2 separate regions of the Homo sapiens genome follow, and region 2 is linked to region 1. Evidence: promoter capture Hi-C in human tissues and cell types (Jung and others, 2019). All regions are on one chromosome and are shown on one strand. Each heading gives the region's core, a stretch centred on a gene start or on the middle of the fragment in contact. The rest is flanking DNA. Distances are from core to core; before and after follow the strand shown. Region 1 holds the start of ZNF780A (zinc finger protein 780A). Region 2 holds the start of SNRPA (small nuclear ribonucleoprotein polypeptide A).

Region 1 (3,664 bases), core at 465-2,964:
TAGATTTAGTCATTCCACAATGTATACATACCATAAAACTTCATGTTGCACATGATAAATACATACAATTATATCTGTCGATTTAAAAAGAAAGAATTTCTGTCCTAGATCATTTGAGCCCCTCACTCATTTTCTTAATATACAACCAGCAGTCGCAATGAATCACATATTCCCAATGCTCCTGTTCTGTAGAGAGTCAAGGGGAATGACTTAAAATGACTACACAAAAAACAACAGTTAAAACATATTAAACATTATTATATGCCTAGCACTGCTCTAAGGGGCTTTACGATATTAATTCATTCTAATGACAGAACCAATATTCCAACCCAGATACTCTGGATCCACTCCCCTATTCTTAACCACAACAGTGTACTGCCTCTCACAGTACACACACACACACACACACACACACTCACACACACACGCCTAAAACACAACTGGAGCTGCCAAACCTCAGAGAGATCTGGCAAGTATTACAAATATCATCTCATGGACTCCCTGGAAAAATCCTGGCTCTTGTTGATACCAATTTCTGTGCGGTCACTTTTCCACTACCGAATGCCTCACAGGCAATGGAGATCATCCAACCATCTCCATTCTTCCCTGTTTTGAAAAGGAGGTCTGTAAAGACCAACTGATGTCTAGTGTGTGATTCCACCTAAACACTAATCTCCTCCTTCCCAAATATGGGTCTAAAATGGAGCTTTAATATTAACTACTGGAGGTGTATTTCTATACCAGCTTCGAAAAAGAGAGCGCACAGGAAGGTGTGAACGATTTGCCAAATTGTTTTGTGACTATTAAGTGGAAAGGTGAAGGAGGGGGCACGAATCAATTTGCATATCCCCCTAGTTTCACTGAAAATTTAAGGGGAAATCTCAATATTCTAAAATCAAAAACGCATGTCTTGAACAAATACAAAGCACAAACTCACCCTTGACTTTAGGTGTGCAGCAGTAACGCTCTCATCCTCCTCCAGGTCCTTCTTTTGGATAAAAATACGACTGGAGAAGGATACGGCAAGCGTGAGACTCCAGGCATTTCTTGGAGCGCAGACTAAGTTTGAAAACACCCTCCCTCCATAGCCACAATTTCCCTCACTTCACACGAAATAGGAAGGAAGTAAAAGGAAGAGGAATCGATTCAACCAGTACAACCAGTTTGGAGCTGGTTTCTGGGGACAGAGCTCTGAGGACGCTGTGGTTCTCAACATGTAGCTGCCCCCCTGGGGAACACTCGGGGGCACTTCTGCGCTTTCTTGTGTAAAGCTTCATTCTCGGCTCAATATCTGACCTCCCTACTGGGGCCATTCCTCTGCTGCAGTCCCCGCAGCTGTGAAGCGGAAAGAGGGAGGAAGCAGCAGGAGCCTAGGGGCACCGGCACAGTGTCACTCAGCAAAGTGCGCTGCGTCCACACGCCCTCCCGGGCCTGTGCATAGAACCTCACGCACACACTCACAGTCCCCTCCGTCACTCATGATCTCACAATCCCCCTCCTCTGATACCCGCGCACACACACGCCTGGGGATCCGGCAGATCCCGTCTGCACCCCCGGGTTCCTACTCTGAGCGCCTCCCCCTAGGCCACCCGCACTGTCGGGTCAGTCAGGCTGGAGCCCCAATCCGCAGAGATCTCCCGCAGCCACAGATCTCTTCCTCAGACGTGAAGACCTTACCCCGCTATGTCGTCGACCCCGGAGACCGGAAGTGGACTGGCGCGGTGGCCGCTGGGAAATACAGTCCCGAACAGAAAAAGCCTCAGAAGCCTTGAGCTGTGATCCGTTCAGGTTGATCCCAGCATACTATGGGGGCTGACCCCTAAGGGAGCCGAGCCTAGTGGATTCGTGGGAGTTCCAGCCCGCGGGGTGCACAGGTTGTTGCCATGAGCAAGGATCCCCATGTGAGAAGAGCGTTTCCCTCTCGGAGCGTCAGTATAATTTACTTTTTCTCTCCATGGAGAATGCAAATGAGCAGAACTTTTAAAGAAGAAAGAAGAATTTAAAGTAAAATTATGTCAACATGTAGGTGCTTTAACTCCTTTGTCTCAGACCCCAGCGATAGGCTTCCACTTCTCTGTGCTATTTGAAGGGGACTTAGGATAAATTTGAAAAGCTTGAACTAAAGAATTGGTTGGTTATATACTAGGAGAGGAAGTGTGGTTCACATTGGAGATTTCAGAATCAAATGTCCTGGATTCTTCGAGACAATGTTCCTGTTATCTGGAGAGAAAAACGTGATTCAGGACGACATGGAAACGGATAAAAATACACAGATAATTACTTGCCTTATCTTGAAGGATGAATAATTAACACTTTGTTAAAATAGTATAAACAAATGCAAAAAAGGGCTTGCTTTTCCTAGGAAGAGCCTGATTTCACTGTTGTAGTCTAACAATATTTAACTTTCAAAATCATTTTTCTAGTTTCCTATGCTACATAAGGAGGAAACATGTAATAATAAAGAGCAAAACGTCTTTTCATTCCAGAATTGTGACAGAAAACAAATAAGATGATTAACTCAACCATATCAATAATCACATTAAATGTAAATGGTCTAAACACCTTAATTTAAAAAGATTGTCAGATTGGATTTTTTAAAAAGTCAGACCCAAATGTGCATCAATGATAGACTGGATTAAGAAAATGTGGCACATATACACCATGGAATACTATGCAGCCATAAAAAGGATGAGTTCATGTCGTTTGTAGGGACATGGATGAAGCTGGAAACCATCATTCTGAGCAAACTATCGCAAGGACAGAAAACCAAACACCAAATGTTCTCAGTCATAGGTGAGAATTGAACAATGAGAACACTTGGACACAGGGTGGAGAACATCACACACCGGGGCCTATAGTGGGGTCGGGGGAGGGGGAAGGGATAGCATTAGAAGATATACCTAATGTAAATGACGAGTTAATGGGTGCAGCACACCAACATGGCACATGTATACATATGTAACAAACCTGCACTTTGTGCACATGTACCCTAGAACTTAAAGTATAATAAAAAAAGATAATTAAATAAATAAATAAACAAAAAGTCAGACCCAAATGGGTGCTACCTACAGGTAATATGTTAAATGAAAAGCACTAAAAGGTTAAGAGTAAAAGGATGGAAAAATATACACCATCCTAACACTAGTCAAAAGAAAGCTGGAGTGGCTTTATTAAAAACAAAGTAGACTCCGGACATAGACTATTACCAGAGATAAAGAAGGGCATAATAATGATAAAGGAGATAGCTCATCGAGTAGAAAAAAACAAACATAAATTTTGCTCCTAAAAGCAAAGCTTCTAAGTATGGGAAGAAAAATCTATTAGATCGAAAAGGAGACAGATCCACAATTATAGTCAGATATTTCAATATATCTCTCTTGGTAATTGATAGAACAAACACAGAAAAGCAACAGGGTATAGCAGATTTGAGCTACATATCAACTTACTTGATCTCATTTATATTTGAGAACACTCTCCTCAATGACAGTAAAATTCATCTATGTGGACAGGGGATACTTACCAGTATAGGCCATATTCTGGGCCATAAAACAAGTCTCAATAAATGTAAGAGGATTCGAGTCATACAAAGCATATTCTTTGACAAAAATGGAATTAAATTAGAACTCAATAATAGCTGAATATATAATATATTGTCCAAAGTAGT
Region 2 (3,664 bases), core at 1-2,500, 660 kb after region 1:
GCTAATATTTGAAACCACGGGAGCAGGAATTGCGAGGCTGACTCAAGTCATAAGGCACCTGACGGTTAACAGGGTGGGGTCCTTAAATCCGGAACCGGATCTGTGGTACCGGTTGGGTTACCTCGGGAGTCTTAGGTGGAGAGTTAGTAGGAGTTAACTCATTCTTTGGGGCTGGATGTGGAAACTCATGAGTGAGTTTGGGATATGAAGGCTCAGATCTAGAGTGAGGTGCCTTAAGGATGCGACTTAGGGACCCAGGGCTAAAGATTCGGAGAACTTAGGTTCAGTACCCCCTCACATCCCAGGCCCGAGTTCGGAACCTTTGAGCTGACCTTTGAGTCAGAGGTCAAGAGGTCAAAAAGGACACCTGGCAGGGAAAATGGCCTAGTTGTGGAGAAGGTCCTGGAACCAGAGCAACAAAAAACGTCTGTGGGTTGGAGAAGACTCAGAGATCAGAGGCCGGTGGGCGCCGCGATAACCACTGGAAAAAGGAAAGGAGTCAGGAAGTAAAGTGCACCTCCCACTCCCGGAAAATGGCGGCCCCCGCACACTGCCTTTCCCATATCACGTGGTATTACACGCAACAGTTCCCGCCCATTTTGCGATCACGTGACAGAAAACGCAGCTCTGGCGGGGGTAAGAGGCGGGACTCCAAAAAGGATTGCCTCCGGAAGACACCGCAGCGCGAGACGCGTACAGACTCGTGACCTTCACTGATTGGTCCGTAGACCCGGGCGCCACGGAAGGAGGTGGGCTTTCAGGGAGTGGGGCGGGGTTTTTCTACCTAGGCGGGAACCCAAATATCGTTTTGATTGGCAACAGCTGAGCCCAGAAACGAGACTTGCTCTGATTGGTCAAGCTACTGCGTTTCCGCGCGGCGATTGGCTGGCAGAAAGGCAGAGGCGGGGCCAGGAGAGAAAGCTTTGTGGTTTGGTCTCAGGGAAGTAGCAGGCGCCGGTTGAGAGAACTACGGCCCTGTCGGAAGGTAACCTCCGGTGCAAACGACCATCGGCGGCAGGCGAGCGGTACGCTTGGCGTCCGGGCCTTCCTGGGCCCGTCTGAGGAAACTTGCTGCTCGAGGCCAGGCTGCCTAGGACCTGTCCCTTTTTTCTATACTGGCTCCCACATCCGGGTTTTTTCTCCGGGACGGCCCTTCGGATGCTTGGGCCAATGGGAATCGCCATTTAGGGTGCTCCGCCCACCGGGTCGCGTAGAGCATCCTGGAAGTCGTAGTAAATCTCTCGAGAGTTCTCTCCGCACGCGGGCTGGAGAAGCGGGTCCTACGCACGCTTTGTTGTCGCGCTTTGCCTCCGTCCTTGCCCCTACTCCCGCCTTACCTGACTTCCTTTTCGGAGGAAGATCCTTGAGCAGCCGACGTTGGGACAAAGGATTTGGAGAAACCCAGGGCTAAAGTCACGTTTTTCCTCCTTTAAGACTTACCTCAACACTTCACTCCATGGCAGTTCCCGAGACCCGCCCTAACCACACTATTTATATCAACAACCTCAATGAGAAGATCAAGAAGGATGGTGAGTTCTCGGGATAGTCCGGAGTCCAGACTGTCCCGCACGGGCTGGCCCCTCTTCCGTCCCCTGCACCCGCCTCTCTTTCTAAGTGTTTGTCCAGCCAAACTTCGAGTTAACTCCTTGGCCTTTACACAAACTACTTCCTGTCTTCAACACTCCATTAGTTCATCTTACACTCTGCCCTTTAACGTGGTCACTGCTGCTCATCTTACAAGGTTTGAGGTCACAGGACCCTTCCTCCAGGAAGCCTTGCCTTGTCCCTTCACGTGGCTGCCGCTGACTTGCCGTACGCTGAGACCATCTCCCATCAAGCCCTGATTCCTCTGAGCTGTCGTGGGGCTCTCTCTCCTCCCAGTGGCCTTTGAACTCCGTGAGGGCAAGGACTGGGGCTTTCTTGGTCACCGGCTTTTTCAGTGATCAGCCCACAATGAACATGTACCATAATGGTGGCTAACGCTCTGTATCATGGGCTGGTCTGTGTGCTTTCATATAAATCTTGATAACATTTAATTCTCACAACAATCTTGTAGGAAGAAGGCTATTGTTATTCCCATTCGTCAACTAAGAAACTGGGGCCGGGCGCGGTGGCTCACCCCTGTAATCAATCCCAGCACTTTGGGAGGCCGAGGCGGGCGGATCACCTGAGGTCGGGAGTTCGAGACCAGCCTGACCGACATGGAGAAACCCTTTCTCTACTGAAAATACAAAATTAGCCGGGCATGGTGGCGCATGCCTATAATCCCAGCTACTCGGGAGGCTGAGGCAGGAGAATTGCTTGAACCCAGGAGACGGAGGTTGCAGTGAGCCGAGATTGCGCCATTGAACTACAGCCTGGGCAACAAGAGCGAAACTCCGTCTCAAAAAAAAAAGAAAGAAAAGAAAAAGAAACTGAGACAGGGGTGATGTGACTTGCCCAGGGTCACATAGCAAGTAAAGTGGTTGAGGCCACCCGTATAGAATTCTGCTTAGGAACCCAATTTTTGGCCGGGCGTGGTGGTTCAGGCCTGTAAGCCCAACACTTTGGGAGGCTGAGGCAGGAGGATCACTGAAACACAGGAGTTCAAGATCAGCCTAGGCGACAAAGCCAGACCTTTTCTCTACAAAAAAAAAAAAAAAAAAAAAAAAGGCTGGGCGTGGGTGGGGTGCGTCTGTGGTCCCAGCTACTTGGGAGGCTGAAGTGGGAGGATCGCTTGAGCTAGAGAGGTTGAGGCTGCAGTGAGCTATGATTGCACCACTGCACTGCTGCCTGGGCTGAGCAAGAACCTATCTGAAAAAAGGAAAAAAAAAAAGAACTCAATTATTGAAATCGGAAAGACTCTCTCACATTCTCAAGTAAATTATCACCTTTATTGAACCTCATTTTCCAGATCTAAAAACTGAGCAAAATCATAATACCTTTTTTGCATGGATGTTGGGGGAGATTAAATTAGCTAAACCTTGCAGTATTTCTTTTTTATGGTAACTGGCAGCTAGTAAAGGGCTGGATAAATGTTAGCTCTTATCACTTCAAGAAAATTATCGGGAGAACCGAAGGAGCTTGTTGGGATTCAGTTTGAGGTTACCAGTGAAGTTGCTGTTGAAGAAAGCAAAACCAGCAGCCGGGCACTGGCTCACGCCTGTAATCTCAGCACTTTGGGAGGCTGAGGTGGGCAGATCATTTGAGGTCAGGAGTTCAAGACCAGTCTGGCCAAGATGGTGAAACCCCGTCTCTACTGAAAATACAAAAATCAGCTGGATGTGGCGGTGCGCACCTACAGTCCCAGCTACTCGGGAGGCTGAGCAGGAGAATCACTTGAACCCTGGGAAGCAGAGGTCGCAGTGAGCTGAGACCGCACCACTGTACTCCAGCCTGGGTGATAGAGACTGTCTCAAAAAAAAAAAATCAGGAGTGTAAATTTTGCATATGTTTTTTTTTTTTTTTTTTTTTTTTTTTTTTGAGGCAGAGTTTCACTCTGTCACCCAGGCTGGAGTGCAGTGGCACGATCTTGGCTCACTACAACCTCTGCCTCCCAGGTTCAAGCGATTCTCCTGCCTCAGCCTCCCGAGTAGCTGGAATTACAGGCACCCGCCACCACGCCTGGCTAATTTTTATATTTTTAGTAGAGACGGGGTTTCACCATGTTGGCCAGGCTTTTCTC

The links. The method cuts DNA at HindIII sites, captures the fragments that hold promoters and counts their contacts. A contact is called where the count stands out against the background at its distance.
Region 2: the fragment with the promoter of SNRPA here is called in contact with the fragment with the promoter of ZNF780A in region 1 in 1 of the 25 tissues and cell types used here (hippocampus).

What each region holds. Positions count from the first base shown.
Region 1 is chr19:40,089,229-40,092,892 of GRCh38, forward strand. It overlaps ZNF780A (zinc finger protein 780A), which reads right to left and starts at 1,715. Exons shown (of 6, transcript NM_001142578.2): 1 at 1,678-1,715; 2 at 938-1,007. RefSeq lists an enhancer at 1,448-1,989 and a silencer at 1,537-1,866. The HindIII fragment of the contact is 2,589 bases long and covers 115-2,703 here.
Region 2 is chr19:40,749,953-40,753,616 of GRCh38, forward strand. SNRPA (small nuclear ribonucleoprotein polypeptide A) reads left to right here and starts at 1,251. Exons shown (of 6, transcript NM_004596.5): 1 at 1,251-1,529. The coding sequence starts at 1,457. ACTMAP (actin maturation protease) reads right to left here and starts at 525. Exons shown (of 6, transcript NM_198476.5): 1 at 1-525. RefSeq lists enhancers at 1-601, 293-532, 1,073-1,142, 1,230-1,857, 1,858-2,485 and silencers at 733-872, 1,137-1,319. The HindIII fragment of the contact is 3,030 bases long and covers 1-2,714 here.